Regions from separate parts of the Homo sapiens genome. Here region 2 is linked to region 1. The links are contacts of gene promoters, found by promoter capture Hi-C in blood cells and fetal thymus (Javierre and others, 2016). All regions are on one chromosome and are shown on one strand. Each heading gives the region's core, a stretch centred on a gene start or on the middle of the fragment in contact. The rest is flanking DNA. Distances are from core to core; before and after follow the strand shown. Region 1 has its middle 87 kb from the start of FLJ32255. Region 2 holds the start of OXCT1-AS1 (OXCT1 antisense RNA 1).

Region 1 (7,253 bases), core at 3,532-6,031:
CCAGCTACTCGGGAGGCTGAAGCAGGAGAATCGCTTGAACCTGCGAGGCGGAGGTTGCGGTGAGCCAAGATCGCGCCATTGAACTCCAGCCTGGACAACAAAAGTGAAACACAAAAAAAAGAAAAGAAAAAGAAGGAAGGAAGAAAGAAAGAAGAAAATGTATGGCTTTACAAAAGTCCTGGGATGCTCCATTTTTTTTTTTTTTTTTTTTTTTTTTTTGAGGCAGAGTCTTGCTCTGTCGCCCGGGCTGTGGCGTGATCTCGGCTCACTGCAAGCTCCGCCTCCCAGGTTCTCGCCATTCTCCTGCCTCAGCCTCCTGTGTAGCTGGGACTACAGGCGGCCACCACCACGCCCGGCTTTTTTTTTTTTTTTTTTTTTTTTTTTTGTATTTTTAGTAGAGACAGATGAGATGCTTCTTTTCACAACCTAGCCTAGACTAATATTTTATTCATTACTCAATGTGATTGACATGCTGCAGGACCTGGATTCTGAATCCAGATTCTAGCAGAATTAGCTTTCTGATCTTGGACTATGATCTAACCTCATTGTGTCTCCTATCTACAACCAGTCAATGCCTCTAAAATATGCAAGAAGAATGAGACATAGTAGGTGTAATTGTCTAGGGTGCCCTGAAATAAGGATACACTTTCTATAGTGAATGGACAGTGAGTAACTGGATCATGCCAGCAGTGGAACATCTCCATTGCTCTCTTTCCTTGGCTGATTCAATCATAGCAACCCAGCAGCGTTTTCAGAGTATCTTCCAGAATGATACAATTTTCACCTTAATCCTACTCTGAACTGATTTGCAAGGCAAATTAGTGTTAATCTCCTGCTTATTTGAATAGCTGGTTTCTGGCCTATATACAAGAAAAAGCATATTATAAAAACACACTCAGGCCGGCGTGGTGGCTCATGCCTGTAATCCTAGCACTTTGGGAGGCCAAGGCTGGCAGATGACGAGGTCAGGAGTTCAAGACCAGCCTGACCAACATGGTGAAACCCTATCTCTACTAAAAATACAAAAATTAGCCGGGGGTGGTGGCACGCACCTGGAGTCTCAGCTACTCGGGAGGCTGAGGCAGAAGAATCGCTTGAACCCGAGAGGCAGAGGTTGCAGTGAGCCAAGATCATGCGACCGCACTCCAGCCTGAGTGACAGAGCAGGACTCCATCTCAAACACCCACCCACAGACACACACACACACACACACTCAGTACTAGCCTGAGTCATTTACCTCTTTTCCTAGTTCAGCTACATGGCTGGCCTCATCACAAGGCTGAACCCATGGAGTTCTGTCCACCAACCCTGGAAGAACAGTCTTGGAGGTAGGCAGGTCCAGAGTGCTTGTCACATGCCACCAGGACAGGACCAAGAACAAACCTGTGCCTGGGCACTAGATCACTTGCTGTGCTGAACACCACTCCTGCCAATGCCCTTTGCTCTGTGAGGATGTAAAATCAGGTGTGTGTGGGCTGCTGTTTTGGGTTTCCAGCAGGCTCAGAGCTGTTCTCAGACTCAAGAGGGACCCAATCGCCATCAAAACCCACATGTCCAGAAGTCAGTGGCTGAAACCACAAAGTAGCTCCAGTCGCTTTAAGACAAGATGGATTAGGCCAGGCATGGTGGCTCGCGCCTGTAATCCCAGCACTTTGGAAGGCTGAGGCAAATGGGTCACCTGAGGTCAGGAGTTCGAGACCAGCCAGGTCAACATGGTGAGCCCCGTCTCTACTAAAAATACAAAATTAGCCAGGCATGGTGGTGCATGCCTGTAATCCAAGCTACTTGAGAGGCTAAGGCAGGAGACTCACTTGAACCTGGGAGGCGGAGGTTGCAGTGAGCCGAGATCGCGCCATTGGCCTCCAACCTGGCAACAAGAGCGAAACTCCCTCTCGGAAAAAAAAAAAAAGATGGATTCTGCCAATAGCAGGGTTCAGTGGGTCCCAAACCAGCCAGGAGATGCCAGCGCTTGCAGAGCTGAACAGACACATACCCAGGACGTCTCCTTAAACTGCTCACAATCAAGGCTTGAAATACTGAAGAACCCTGAAAGGGAAAAAAAACTTTTCTTGCTCATTACTCACAGTGAGATAGGAGTTTGGCAGGACTAGTTTCTCAAGACAAACAGGATGCTAGGTCCCCAAGACACAGGTCACAGTACCCGGTACAAGATTCCTTAAAAAAAATTTAAAAATTGTTTTAAAAAAGCCCAAACCAGCTAGAAGGAAAATGGCATAAAAGCTACCTCTGGTTACCTTCATTGCTCGTTATATGCTAATTATTATGCATTGGCATGCTAAAAGACTACCACCAGAGCAATGACTGTTTATAAGTGCCATGGCAATCCCCAAGAGTTACTCTGTATCTTCTGTAAGGTAGATAAACCCCCGGTCCACAAGCTCCTGCCTCTTTCCCAGATAACTAAAGAAATAGTCGACCCCTCATTTAGCATATAATCAAGAAATAGCCATAAAATAGCCAGCTAGCTGCCCTGTCCCTTGGTGCTACCCTGACTACGGGGGTAGCCTTCTTTTTGTTTCCTTAATACACTTGCTTTCACATTACTCTTTTGGCTTGCTCTTGAATTCTTTCTGGTACAAGCAAAGTATCCACTTGGCTTCCCTGGCTGAATGCCAATTCTGGGGGTATCCTTGCATCAACAGCACCACTGCCTTCAACCAATGCCCTGGAAGGAGCTCCTCACACCCCAGTGGGGACCCTCATGATGTTATTGTAAACTTGCTTGGGACTCTGCCTTCTAGATAGAGGCAACAGGAGCAAGAAGTTTCTATGTTGGAGATCATTCCTTGTTTAGTTCTTCCTCTCCAAAGTACTAGGAGCAAGAAGTCTATGATGGAGATCATTCCTTATTTAGTTCTTCTTCTCCAAAGTACCTCAAAGATTTCCAAATTATAAAAACTATCTTTGTGTAATCAAGAATATGCTAAGGAACTTTACTTCTAGATAGACTCAGAATTCATGGTAGATGGTAAATTTTGTTATATGTATTTTACCACAATAAAAATAAATAGAAAATAAAAGACAAGAAGGAAATGAAAGAATTGAGTGACTACCACTGCCCTGCTTCTCACTAACATCCCAAGTTGTCTTTGAGGACACACCTCTCCTCAAGCTTTTCTCTGCCTGGAGAACAAGATTGCAGTCTCTGCTCCAGGACTAGCAATGTGGTTTGGGGCAATAATAAACTATTAACCAGGGTTCCTCAAAAGAGCTTTCCCTCCACAGGTTAAGGAGTACCTTTTCTTTTTATCACTTAAACCACCCTATCACAGATTGAGTTTCGTCTAAGATGTTAGGGTTTTATGTTAATACCAGTAATTCCATCTTCTGTTACAATTTGCTTCTAGAATTAATATCACCACTATGCTTCCTATGATCTGATTAGGACCAGGCACTTGGCCAGAAAAGTGTAAAAACTCAAAAGCTGATGTCTCCTGCTGTGAGACTGGATGAAACACCTTTTCCCTTGTGTTCAGGAGCCCTTGGATTACACAATTCCATATTGCTTTCAGATTGGCCAGCCCAGAGGAAATCTTAGCAGATAATCTAACCTGGGTGTTGCACACAGAGGCCACCCTGAGGGAGCCAAAGCCAGGGCTGCATTCATAGTCCCTTTATCCCCTAGACCTTCAAAAGGTTTCAAATTGAAATCACGATCATGTCATCTAAGATAACAATTAATTTCTCTTTACAATTAATTGCCATTCAGGGATGTTGTGGTTTGAATATTTGTCCCTTCTGAAACTCATGTTGAAACTTAATCCCCAATGTAGCAATATTGAGAGGTAGGGCCTTTAAGCAGTGATTGGGTCTTGAGGGCTCTGCCCGTTTGATGTCTTAATCCATTTATGGATTAACGGTTAATTGGTTAATGGAATAATGGGTTATCAGAGGATTGGGATTGTGGTTTTATTTTTTTTTAAGTAGATTTTGAGACTTCAGAACAGAAAATGAGGATGATAAGATGGGAAGCCCCCTCCATATCCAAACCACAAAAACACTCTAACTCATCTTTCACCATCTGCTTATTTTTTATGACATGGATAATTGACATGTAATTAGTCTAATAATGAGTGCAAAGCAAACACAGCTCTAGTTCCACGTTCCAATAAGATGCAACATCTAAGCTTCTCTATACTGATACTTAGAACTGCCACTATGTGAAAAGATTGATGTAATCACAGCTAGACTAGATTAATGCTGTCATCTAGTTTATGGGTTTTGATTTCTAACATTTGAGGGGACAGAAAAGTGTAAAAGTCCCAAGTGTATTCTCTACTGCATGTTTTTCATCTCTGCCCAAGGATTTTGGTGTAAAGGCTGGAAACCTTTACACCAAATCTTTACACTAAAGTTGTGAAGACACATAAATCTTTCTCCTGGGATGCCCACAAGAAGGAATGAGTCTTAGTTGCTGCAGGACCTGAGATGGGCAGAGATTATGAGAGCCTCCCATACACTTGGTGTTCTGCACTGAATTGTGTTCCCCCAAAATTCATGATAATTTTGATTAACTAATCTCCAAGTGATGGTATTTGGAGATGGGGCCTTTGGGAGACAATTAAGTTTAGATGAGGTCATGAGGGTTGGGGTTTCATAATGGGATTAGTGCCCTTATGAGAAGAGGAAGAGATACCAGGTCCCTCTCCTTCTCTCCCTTTCTTCTCTTGCCCCTCTACCCACTTCTCTCTCTCCTTCTGTGCCATGTGAGAACACAGCTACAACATGGCCATTGGCATGACAGGAAGACAGCCCTCACCAGGAGCTGAATCACTGGCGCTTTCATCTTGGACTTCCAGATCCTGGGCAAGACTCACCAAGGCAGACATCTGTAGCTGCCTGGAATTGTCTGATCTGGAGTTGATGCTCTGGAACCCTGTGGTTGTTAACTCAGAAGGCACAAGGCTAGGGATCTTCTTTCAGTCCCCGTTAGTCTATCCCCACTCTTCATTTTCTCTTTTGTTTTTCAAGTAATGAATTTATTTTTCCAATTAATGTAGCCAGCTCATGGTACAGCATATTAAAGCATAAAGTACAAATCCAAGGAAGGTAATACCTTTACTATGTTATAAAACTTTGACAAATCAATATATTACTTTTTATTATAATAAAAGCATATGTTTCTGGGAGTCATATACTACTTTAGGGATAATTTTTACTCCAAAAATATTCAAGTACTAAACCAAAACACTGGTTTTTAATGGTGGTTTATAGCAGAGCAAGTTATTTTATACACATTAATATCATTTAAAACTGAGCAATTTCTCCTTTTAAAGTGAAGTTCCTTATGCAAGCTGTTGAAGTTTATGGCAGCAGGGCAATTGTGTGTATATAAGAGGTGGCTCTGCTTTGTTCTGAAGTTCCACCAAAGTCAGGTAGTGTTCCCAGGTGTTAAAAGCTTTAAAATTCTACCTCAAAATGATTCAATGTCAATGCAAACTGCCAAGTACTTTTTGAAAAATTTTTAAATTTTCACATAAATACTGGAACTCTCAAAATTAGACAATCATTTCAAACAACACTTATTTTAGATGATCCCTTTTATTTAGACACCCTGAACCTCTTTGTTTTTATTCCATGTCACAAAGTCTTCTATCAGTCTATTTTTTAAAAATTCTACCTAAGATACGGTTTTAAAATAACAGATTGCAAGGTTGGAGACACCTGGGGTACTTGATGTCTTCCAACATCCATTATCATTTCTCTGTAAATGATGCTGCTACTATCCGAGTTCTTATGCTTCCTCTTTTTGAAGCCAGCAATTTCTCAATCTTAACATGTAGTTTAAGTATTACCCATTCCAGTGCTTCTCAGCCTTTATTAGCATTTGAAGATATTGTACTTGTCTTCAGTTCTTCAAGGTAACTGCTGAGGCTGATTCTTTTCACAATGATTGTGGTTTCTTGAGTCAAAATAGTTTTTTTTCTGGGTCCTGAAGACTATGTTTTGGCTCTTGCTGCAACAGTAAGGGACTTGCAGTTCCCACTCTGTGCAGAGAAGTCTGTGGCCTTGCAACTTTCCAGAGGGATCTATATATCCTTCCAACACATCAACCCACACCCTGCTCAGGTTCGCAGGGCTTGGGTATTTGTGCATTGCAGCTGTTGTAACAGTTTCCCACGGGTGGTGAAAGACGTGCTCTGCAGTCCAGATCTTGATGGTGCAGGCAGTCTGCTAGATGTCTGTGAAGCGCAGGGGAAAATGAGGTGAGGAGGCTACACCTGTCCCACCCCGTCGGGGGCCCTTCAACCAGCTTCGCTGTGCGCAGGTGCCGTCGGCTCCAAGTGAGGCGGTCCTCCACTCTTCGTTACAATGTAACATTTAAACCATTTAAAGCAGAGATCCGCAACGTTTTTGGCACCAGGGACCAGTTTAGTGGAATACAATTTTTCTACGGATGGAGAGGGGTGTGGGGATGGTTTCGGGATGAAGGTGTTAGAAATCAAATAATCAGGCACGCAATAGATTCTCAAAAGGAGAGCAAAAGCTAGTCTTGGTCCTGCGCATGCGCAGTTCACAATAGGGTTCGCACTCCTGTGAGAATTTAATGCAGCAGATCTGACGCTAGGCGGAGCTCAGCCAGTAATGCTCGCTTGCCCACTGCTCAGCTCCTGCTTTGGGGCCGGGTTCCTAACCGGTCCGTGGTGGGGGGGATTGGGGACCCCTGATTTAAAGAACAGTGCTAATGCCTGTTTTCTGCCTTTATTTGGAGGGCCACAGTCAGTTTCAAAGCAACTCCAGCATATGATCCACCCAGCTGTCCCCTCCCACCCTGTTAGTATCCACAGCTCCTCAAAGGCCCCTGGAATTTAGACTAAAGCCTGATCACGCCACTGCACACCGGCCTAGGCGACCCAGCGAGACCCCCATCTTAAATAATAATAAGACTCAAAAGAAAAAGAAAAAGCTCTGAGCTAGGTCCCTGCCCCCTTTCTGTCTGCTTCAGGCCCATCTATACCAACCTTGATTTACTAGTTTTGATTCCACAGTTGGAGAATAAGGGAAAGGCTTTAATCAATGTGTACAGTTTCGATGGAAGAACCATCACAATTTTGAGTAGATCTAAAAGAAAAGTTCCTTAGCACATTGCATATTATTCACTACATGAAGAGAGTTTTTCTAAATAAAAATGTTTAGGACATTCAGGAGAGGAAGAACAAATTATGGAATGATCTCCACAGCAAAGACCTCAAGGCTCTTATGCGTGCAGGGCACAGTTCCAGTGCAAAAGT
Region 2 (7,253 bases), core at 1,534-4,033, 1.0 Mb before region 1:
ATGGAAACTCATTATTTCTTTCCTTCACTCATTTGTACCAACTATACAAAATACTGGGGCTACAAAGTTAAAATATTGAAAATAAAACCCAGACATAGCCCCTGCTATAATGAAACTTACAAACTAGCAAAGATAGTAGTCATTAAATAATTACAAAATTTTAAACACAATCATAGTATTTAATTGGGGAGCTATAAGGAAGAAACAGTTGCTGAGAAAGAATGCCAGGGACAGCACTGAGGAACATTTCAGAAAGAGGCACACATATGACACTTGGTGATCAATTGGAAGTGCAGCAAGGAGAAGAGAAGATGGTTCCAGGATTTCCAGCTTATATACTGGATGGATACTGGTGCTGTTAAGCACAGTGATAGAAGAACAAAACAAGGAATGGGAAAGCCACTTTATGGCTAGTTTGCTTTGGATCAGAAAGAGCTTTAAGCACCAACTGACATCCAAGTGAAGTTCACCAGTTGCACCAGAAGGACTGCAGCTCAGGAGAGTCAGAGGTTGGAAAGAGATTTGGGAAAAGACAGGGTCAAGGATGAATGGTGGGTAAAGTGTTAGTGGTACTCTTATAACCTTTTTCCCACTAATAATTTTCTATAGTGAAAATAGTATTAAATGCTCCCCACTGCCCCTCAGTAATAATGAAGAAAAGAAGATACCTCCCAATAGTCTATTTTCACCTAAGTCCATGCCAGATAACTCTGAAAGGGGCAGTCAGTCCCCAGACCAGCAGCATCAACATCACCTGGAACTTATCAATGCAAAGTTTAGGGCCCCACCCAGGACCTATTAAATTAGAAATTCTGGGGGTGGGTACAGCAATCTGTTTTAGAAAACCTCCAGGTAATGCTGATGCACTCTCAGGTCTGCGAGACACTGGGCCTGCCCATTATAAAAATGTTAAACATTTAAGAAAATAACTATCTCGTTTTAGCTGTTAGTTATGTTTAGTGGAAAAACTCAAGGTTTCTGTTTGCCTGGAGGGTTCTCTCATCCGTACTTTAAACATGTGTAGAATATCTGATCTATGCAGAGTAGTGTGTTTGTTGAGGGAGACTAAGTGTAAGGCATAAATATGGTCTCTGCCATCGGGGAACTGTCATCTGGTTGAGGAGACAATATACACATCTGAAAAGTTAAACAAGTAGATAAGTGGTACAGTTCAACAGAAGCAGCAGGTGAGGATTTAAAGTGCTAAACAATAAGGGCTGTAATCCCAGCACTTTGGGAGGCCGAGGCGGGCGGATCACGAGGTCAGGAGATCGAGACCATCCCAGCTAAAACGGTGAAACCCCGTCTCTACTAAAAATACAAAAAATTAGCCGGGCGTAGTGGCGGGCGCCTGTAGTCCCAGCTACTTGGGAGGCTGAGGCAGGAGAATGGCGTGAACCCGGGAGGCGGAGCTTGCAGTGAGCCGAGATCCCGCCACTGCACTCCAGCCTGGGCGACAGAGCGAGACTCCGTCTCAAAAAAAAAAAAACAATAAGGGCACTAAGAGCCACAAGCTAGGGGAATAGTGGAAGGCAGGAGTTAGACCTATGATAATCAAGCCTGACAGGGCTAAGTTTGAACTCTGTATGAACTTTTAATGAGATATAGCAGAACCCCTTATTTGCATCTCGTCCCTCTAAGATGAGGTTTGCTGAGCTTCGGAAATGGTTTAATGATATACTCAAGATGGAAAAGACTTGAAGTGAGTAAATTACAGTTGGGCAAATCAGTAACTGTCAAAAGAAGGAACGTTCCTGACCTCGGCCCAAGGGTATCGCTGTGCTCTGGTTTGTATTAGCTTCAGCACCGCTGCAATCTCACTGAAGGTCAAGTTCCCTTTTAATAATGCTTTATATATCCAAGTCTATCTGCAGTTATAAAAATGCTTCCTAAGAGGCATTTAAGAGTAAAATGGTCCAGTTCTGAACCATTCCCTAGCACCTACCGAAGGAGCTCAGTGGCTCCTCTGTGTTCTCAGCGGTCAGGGATTGGATGCAGGAAAGAGCAATGGGGCCAGGCAGGCACGCTTCAGGAGTAAGCACCGTGTGCATGGCACGCTGTCAAGCTCAGACCTATTACTGAATACCAAGGAAGAGGCTCCCGCGATTGAGACGGCGGGGATAAAGCCACCCTCCTGGACCTGGCGCTCTGGTCCTGTAATTCGCTCCTAGGGCTCCAGACAGGGGTGGGCTTACAAGCGAGGACAGTGCATAAGGCAAAACCACAAGTCAGTCCACGGTGGGAATGCCTCCGGATACCACTCGGTGGAGAGTCGGCAGTGGGGCACAAAAAGGATTTCAAAGGGCTCTGAAAACCGAAAGCCCCTAACCCGGATACGAGGGGCCTCGAGAGAAAGGTTTGTCCTCCCCTGCAGCCCAGGCGCGGGCCAGGGACACACCTCGGATGGTTTCCCAGCTTGGCCGGCAAGACGCCCTGGCGAGCGCTCCAGTCTACGGGGCAGCAGAGCCAAATAGGGAGGAGAGGATGGGAGCGGCATTCCACACCCGCCGCACCCGGCATCCAGCCCCGGTGAACTCGAGCAGAGCCATGGCTAACCCAGCCTCAGGTTCTGGGCCTCTAGAGGTTCCTCTGCCCAGAGATCCAACATCGGGGGCGCAAACCTACCCGCTGTTGCCTCACTCCTAAACCTCCATATACTGGCGCCCTCCTCCCCCCGTTCAGACCCTCAGAGTCCCTATCCAAGGGCGGGTGCCAGGAGGGAAGCCGACGAGCGCCAAAGGGCTCGGGAGCGCTGCCAGGAGTCCTCCCGCCCCTTCTCAGCCTCTCCGCGCGCTTCTTTATCGCGTCTCGCTCCATCAGGGAAGCGACTGCAGAACCAAGCAAAGGCGGTCATCCGAGGGGCCGGCGAGGCCAGGAACGCGTCGCCGCGTGTCCGTGACCAGGGCACCGCGCCACGGATGCCAGATCCCAGGCTGGAGAGAGCGGGTAGGGGCAGAGAAGAAAACGCGGGCACCACTCAGGGTTTGGTCCACGTTCTTCCTGCCCATGGCCTTCCTCTTCCCCCGCACTTTACCTTGTACCAGGTTGCCCCAGATCCGCGGGCAGAGGCGCAGAGCCGAAGCCCGGAGGAGAGGAGTTTGAGAGCCGCCATCTTCGGGCGGTGAGGCAGGAGGAGGCTGCGGGTTGGAGCGCGCGTTTGAGCGTCGGTGCGCGACTGCGAAGGAAACCCGGGCGGGCTGGAGGCTCGACAGCGCGTCGATGACGTCCTCCCGGCCTTTCGAGCCGCACGCCACCGGCGCGCTGCTGGCTGCTGCTTTTAAAAGAAGTGAGGCTGGGCGGGGCCCCGGCGGGGAGAAGAGGCTCTGTGCAGCCGGGGCGGATCGCGGGGAAGTTCCTCTCAGCGCCTCAGGTGTCTGGGCGTGTGCAGCTGTGTTGGCGCACACTTGCCGCTACAGCCCTTCTGTCAGCCCTTTAGCTTCGATGGGGCGCTGGTGGCCGCCTCCCCCTAGGTTGTGGATGAGTCTTGGCCTAGGGTTCAGGGCCCTCCGGCCGCGGGAGGATCTCCCGCCAAGCTTGTTGCTTTTCCAAGTTAGTGCCTGGCGTGTGTGTGGGCTGCATAGGGGCACCCCTCGAGGCCCCCTTCTCTTCTCCCGCCTGGACTGCGTTCACGTTTCTAACATTTCTCAGCCCCTTCTCCCCACATCTGGCCTTGGCTTACATAGAGTAAGTTTGCTGTGAGCACTTGCCTCGAACTGTCGGTCAAGAGGTGTGAGCAACAAGGCTTGCAGAGGAACAAGATTAAGACTGGACCTCTGTGACCTGAGTTTAGCACACCTTTTCTTCCCCATCATCCAAGTTTGCGAATTTCGGGCTCTTTCTCGCACTGGAGTCCCAGCAACCCCAGAGATTACTAAAGATGCAACCATAAAAGCAGTATATTGCTTTAACCTTAGGCAAGTTAGATAACTTCCCTAAGCCTCAGTGTCCTCATCTGCAAATTAGGATTGCTTGTGATACAACGTCATAACGTTTCTATGAGTTAATTCATGCAAAGTTTATGGCCTTATTATGAGGAGTCAATAAATGTTAGGCATTATTATAAGTTTATTCCATTGTAGCAGTTCATTGACATGGCACGTACATATTCGCCAAGCCTTGTCTTTTGACCAACTCCTTGAGGACATGAGCCACGACTGATTTCTCCAGAACTGTCTTTGCACTTAGCAGAGTGGAAAGACCAAGTGGAAGCTCAATAGCATTTTATTTGATTAAGGCCTGACCAAGTTCTGAGAATGTGATGTTAGTTTTGAACCAAAGCAAAGCACACAAAAATTAAATGAGATCTTAGCTTCCTTAGCAAATACAGTAAGGTAATGAACAGTGAAGATGCAGTTCAAAGTTTGTCCATAAAATCATTTGCCCTTTCATGGTATTCTTTTAACTCTGAACTTTTTTTTTTCCTGTAAATATTATAATTTTAGTCAAAATCAGTTAAGGAGTAAGATACCAAGTTAGACTATTCAATTACACTGGAGAAATTAACTTATTGCTAGTTGGTATTTCAACACATTTTAAGAAGTTGGATTGGGGGGAAATTCAAGTACTGTAACTAAAGTCCCATAACTAGTGATAATTTAGCATATAGCAGCTGTTGTACCTTTAACTTACACAATGTGAAAAAAACTAGCATTCCAATTGAGTCTGCTTTTCCACTTTTGCCCATTGCGATTGGGTCTGCTTTTCCACTTTTGCCCTTCCACAGGGCACATGAAATGGAAAAACTGCATTGGCAACTTTGCCGGTGGTCATATGACTGACTCTTGGCTGGTCTCACTTTGTTGCTCTTGGCTGAGGAAGACACATTTTAAATGTTGCATGCTATGTGACTAAGTCTCCTGAGAAAATCACCCTAATTACTGTATGGTCAAAACACACTGTACTGTATTTTTGATGACTGTGACTTCATTTTATACTTTTTAAATAATGTGCAAGTCTCTTCAACTTGAATAAATTAGATTACAAATTACAAAAAAAGTTCTTATGTGCTGATTTCACTTCTAGTTACACAAAGGCACTTCAATTTTAATTGGTGTGCAAAATTTTACTTCTTTTAAATATCTGAACTTTTCCGAACTAGTAAGGATATTTCCCACTTGCTTTGAAAGGCAGTTTCTGGCAAATATGTTATATTCTGGAAACCTTTCTTTGTGGAATCTTACAGTTTAACTTCCACACTTTTAAAAACTGGGAGAATTGGATTCAAAGCCTTTAAACAAAAGGTCTGATTCCAGTCATGCAATGAGGAAAGATTTTTTTGTTTGTTTTTTTGTATTTTTTTTTGTTTTTTTGTATTATGTTATGATACGTATGTGTATGTGTGGGTGTGGGTGTACATACACCAAGTCATGTGCTACATAACATTTTGGTCAATAATGGACAGCATATATGATGGTGGTCCCATAAGATTATAATAACATATTTTACTGTAGCTTTTTTATGTTTAGAAATGTTTAGCCATGTGCAGTGGCCCACGCCTGCAATCCCAGCACTTTGGGTGGCCAAGGCAAGTGGATCGCTTGAGCCCAGGAGTTCGAGACCAGCCTAGGCAACATGGTGAAACCCCGTCTCTACAAAAACAGACAAACAAAAAAATTAGCTGGTGTGGTGGAGCACACCTGTAGCCAGCTACTGGGGTGGGGTGGGCAGTGGGGACTGAGTAAGGAGGATTGCTTGAGCCTGGGAGGCAGAGGTTGCAGTGAGCCGAGATTGCTCCTCTGCATGCCAGAGCAAGACTCTGTCTCAAAATAAAAGAAAGAACAGAAAAATTTAAATACACAAATAACTACCATTATGTTACAATTGCCTACTAAATATTGTACAGTAACATGCTGTACAAGTTTGTAGCCTAGGAGCATAAGCCATACCATATAGCCTAGGTGTGTAGTAGGTTAGACCATCCAGGTTTATGTCAGTATATTCTGTATTAGCACAATGACAAAATAGCCTAGCATCTCATTTCTCAGAACCTGTCTTTGTCATTAAGCAAGGCATGACTGTGTGGCACCATTTTATCAGATACATGCAGGTAATGTGTCAGAGTTTATTAGATTGTAAATTATTCTCTGTTTTAAGGAGTTTCATTTTAATTCTCCTAAAATATGATGCATTAGCATATCTCATTAGTGCAAGATATGACATCCTATTCTCACAGTTGATGGTGTACTCCCCAGGATGATAACCAGGGGCATCTGAAGACTTGTTTTTCAAATGTTGATTAACTGGTTTCACTAGAAATAGCAGTTTTTAAGTAGGTCATTTGAGTCACTTATAAAAGTGCATGCGTGCTTCATTTTATCACAATAGTCCTTTAATATATGGAGAACATAGTCCTTCAAACAATTTGCTTCTAGTAGGTTTGAAGGACATAAATCTGAAATTTCACATAAATCTGTAAATCTAAGTATTGTTTTATAGTGCAAGACACCCATTAATTTGCATATTTTGCAAGCTTATTTTCATAGATCCTTTAAAGGAGTCCCTTGTATTAACTAGTGTGTATTTAATATTTGTTCAATGATTAAAGAAAAAATAGATTGATTTTTATAAAGTGTAGTTTTCTCAGAAAAAAAGTAAAATAAATGCATGAGATACTTGGAGAGGGCTTAAGGCCTGGAATGAAATTGAAAATTATGATAAGATACTAAGGAAACCTAAAAGAGTAAAATGCACCAGAGTGATCTTGTATACATTCAAGACTGATCACTTTATTTCTGCTTAAAACCTGTCATTGGTTTTCCCCACTGCCTTTGAGATCCAAAGTTCATACTTAATAACATGACATAGAAGAGGATCATCTCTTCTGGTCTTCCTTTCCCCCACACGTCTGCTTTATATTTCAAACTATATGTGCCTCTTGATTTTTACACAGTGAATTTGCACAACCTCAGAATCAAGTGTTGACAGCAAAATAATAAAGAGCAGGAATTCTGTGGTTAGGCTTCTAGGGTTCAAGTCTCAGCTCTGCAGTCTCTAGCTATACGGCCTTCTGTGGTGCAGTAGTTAAGCAGGGCTTACAGAATGTCAAGATGTAAGGTAATCTCTAGATCAATATTTGCATTATTCAGGTGTTAAAAGATTATACATTATTAATTATTTCCCAGATGCTATCTTAGTCCATTCTTGCTGCTACAACAAAATATCTTAGGCTGGGTAAGTTACAAGAAGAAATGTATTTCTCACAGTTCTGGAGGCTGGAAAGTCCAAGATCAAGGCACCAGCATATTGAATATGTT

Evidence for each region. The method cuts DNA at HindIII sites, captures the fragments that hold promoters and counts their contacts. A CHiCAGO score of 5 or more calls a contact.
Region 2: the fragment with the promoter of OXCT1-AS1 here is called in contact with a fragment that was not itself captured in region 1 in 9 of 17 cell types (M2 macrophages, total CD8 T cells, M0 macrophages and 6 more); the score reaches 8.3 in M2 macrophages.

The regions. Positions count from the first base shown.
Region 1 is chr5:42,902,488-42,909,740 of GRCh38, forward strand. It overlaps the pseudogene PRELID3BP5. Among named protein-coding and RNA genes, the nearest start is that of FLJ32255, 87 kb to the right of the region's middle. RefSeq lists enhancers at 6,042-6,091, 6,222-6,281. The HindIII fragment of the contact is 1,271 bases long and covers 4,147-5,417 here.
Region 2 is chr5:41,867,247-41,874,499 of GRCh38, forward strand. It overlaps OXCT1-AS1 (OXCT1 antisense RNA 1), which reads left to right and starts at 2,784. Exons shown (of 3, transcript NR_046635.1): 1 at 2,784-2,946; 2 at 3,045-3,136; 3 at 3,520-4,995. It overlaps OXCT1 (3-oxoacid CoA-transferase 1), which reads right to left and starts at 3,179. Exons shown (of 17, transcript NM_000436.4): 1 at 3,035-3,179. The coding sequence starts at 3,112. LOC102723752 (a long non-coding RNA gene) reads left to right here. Exons shown (of 3, transcript XR_925956.4): 1 at 1-2,356. RefSeq lists enhancers at 2,816-2,895, 3,726-3,775. The HindIII fragment of the contact is 3,584 bases long and covers 1-3,531 here.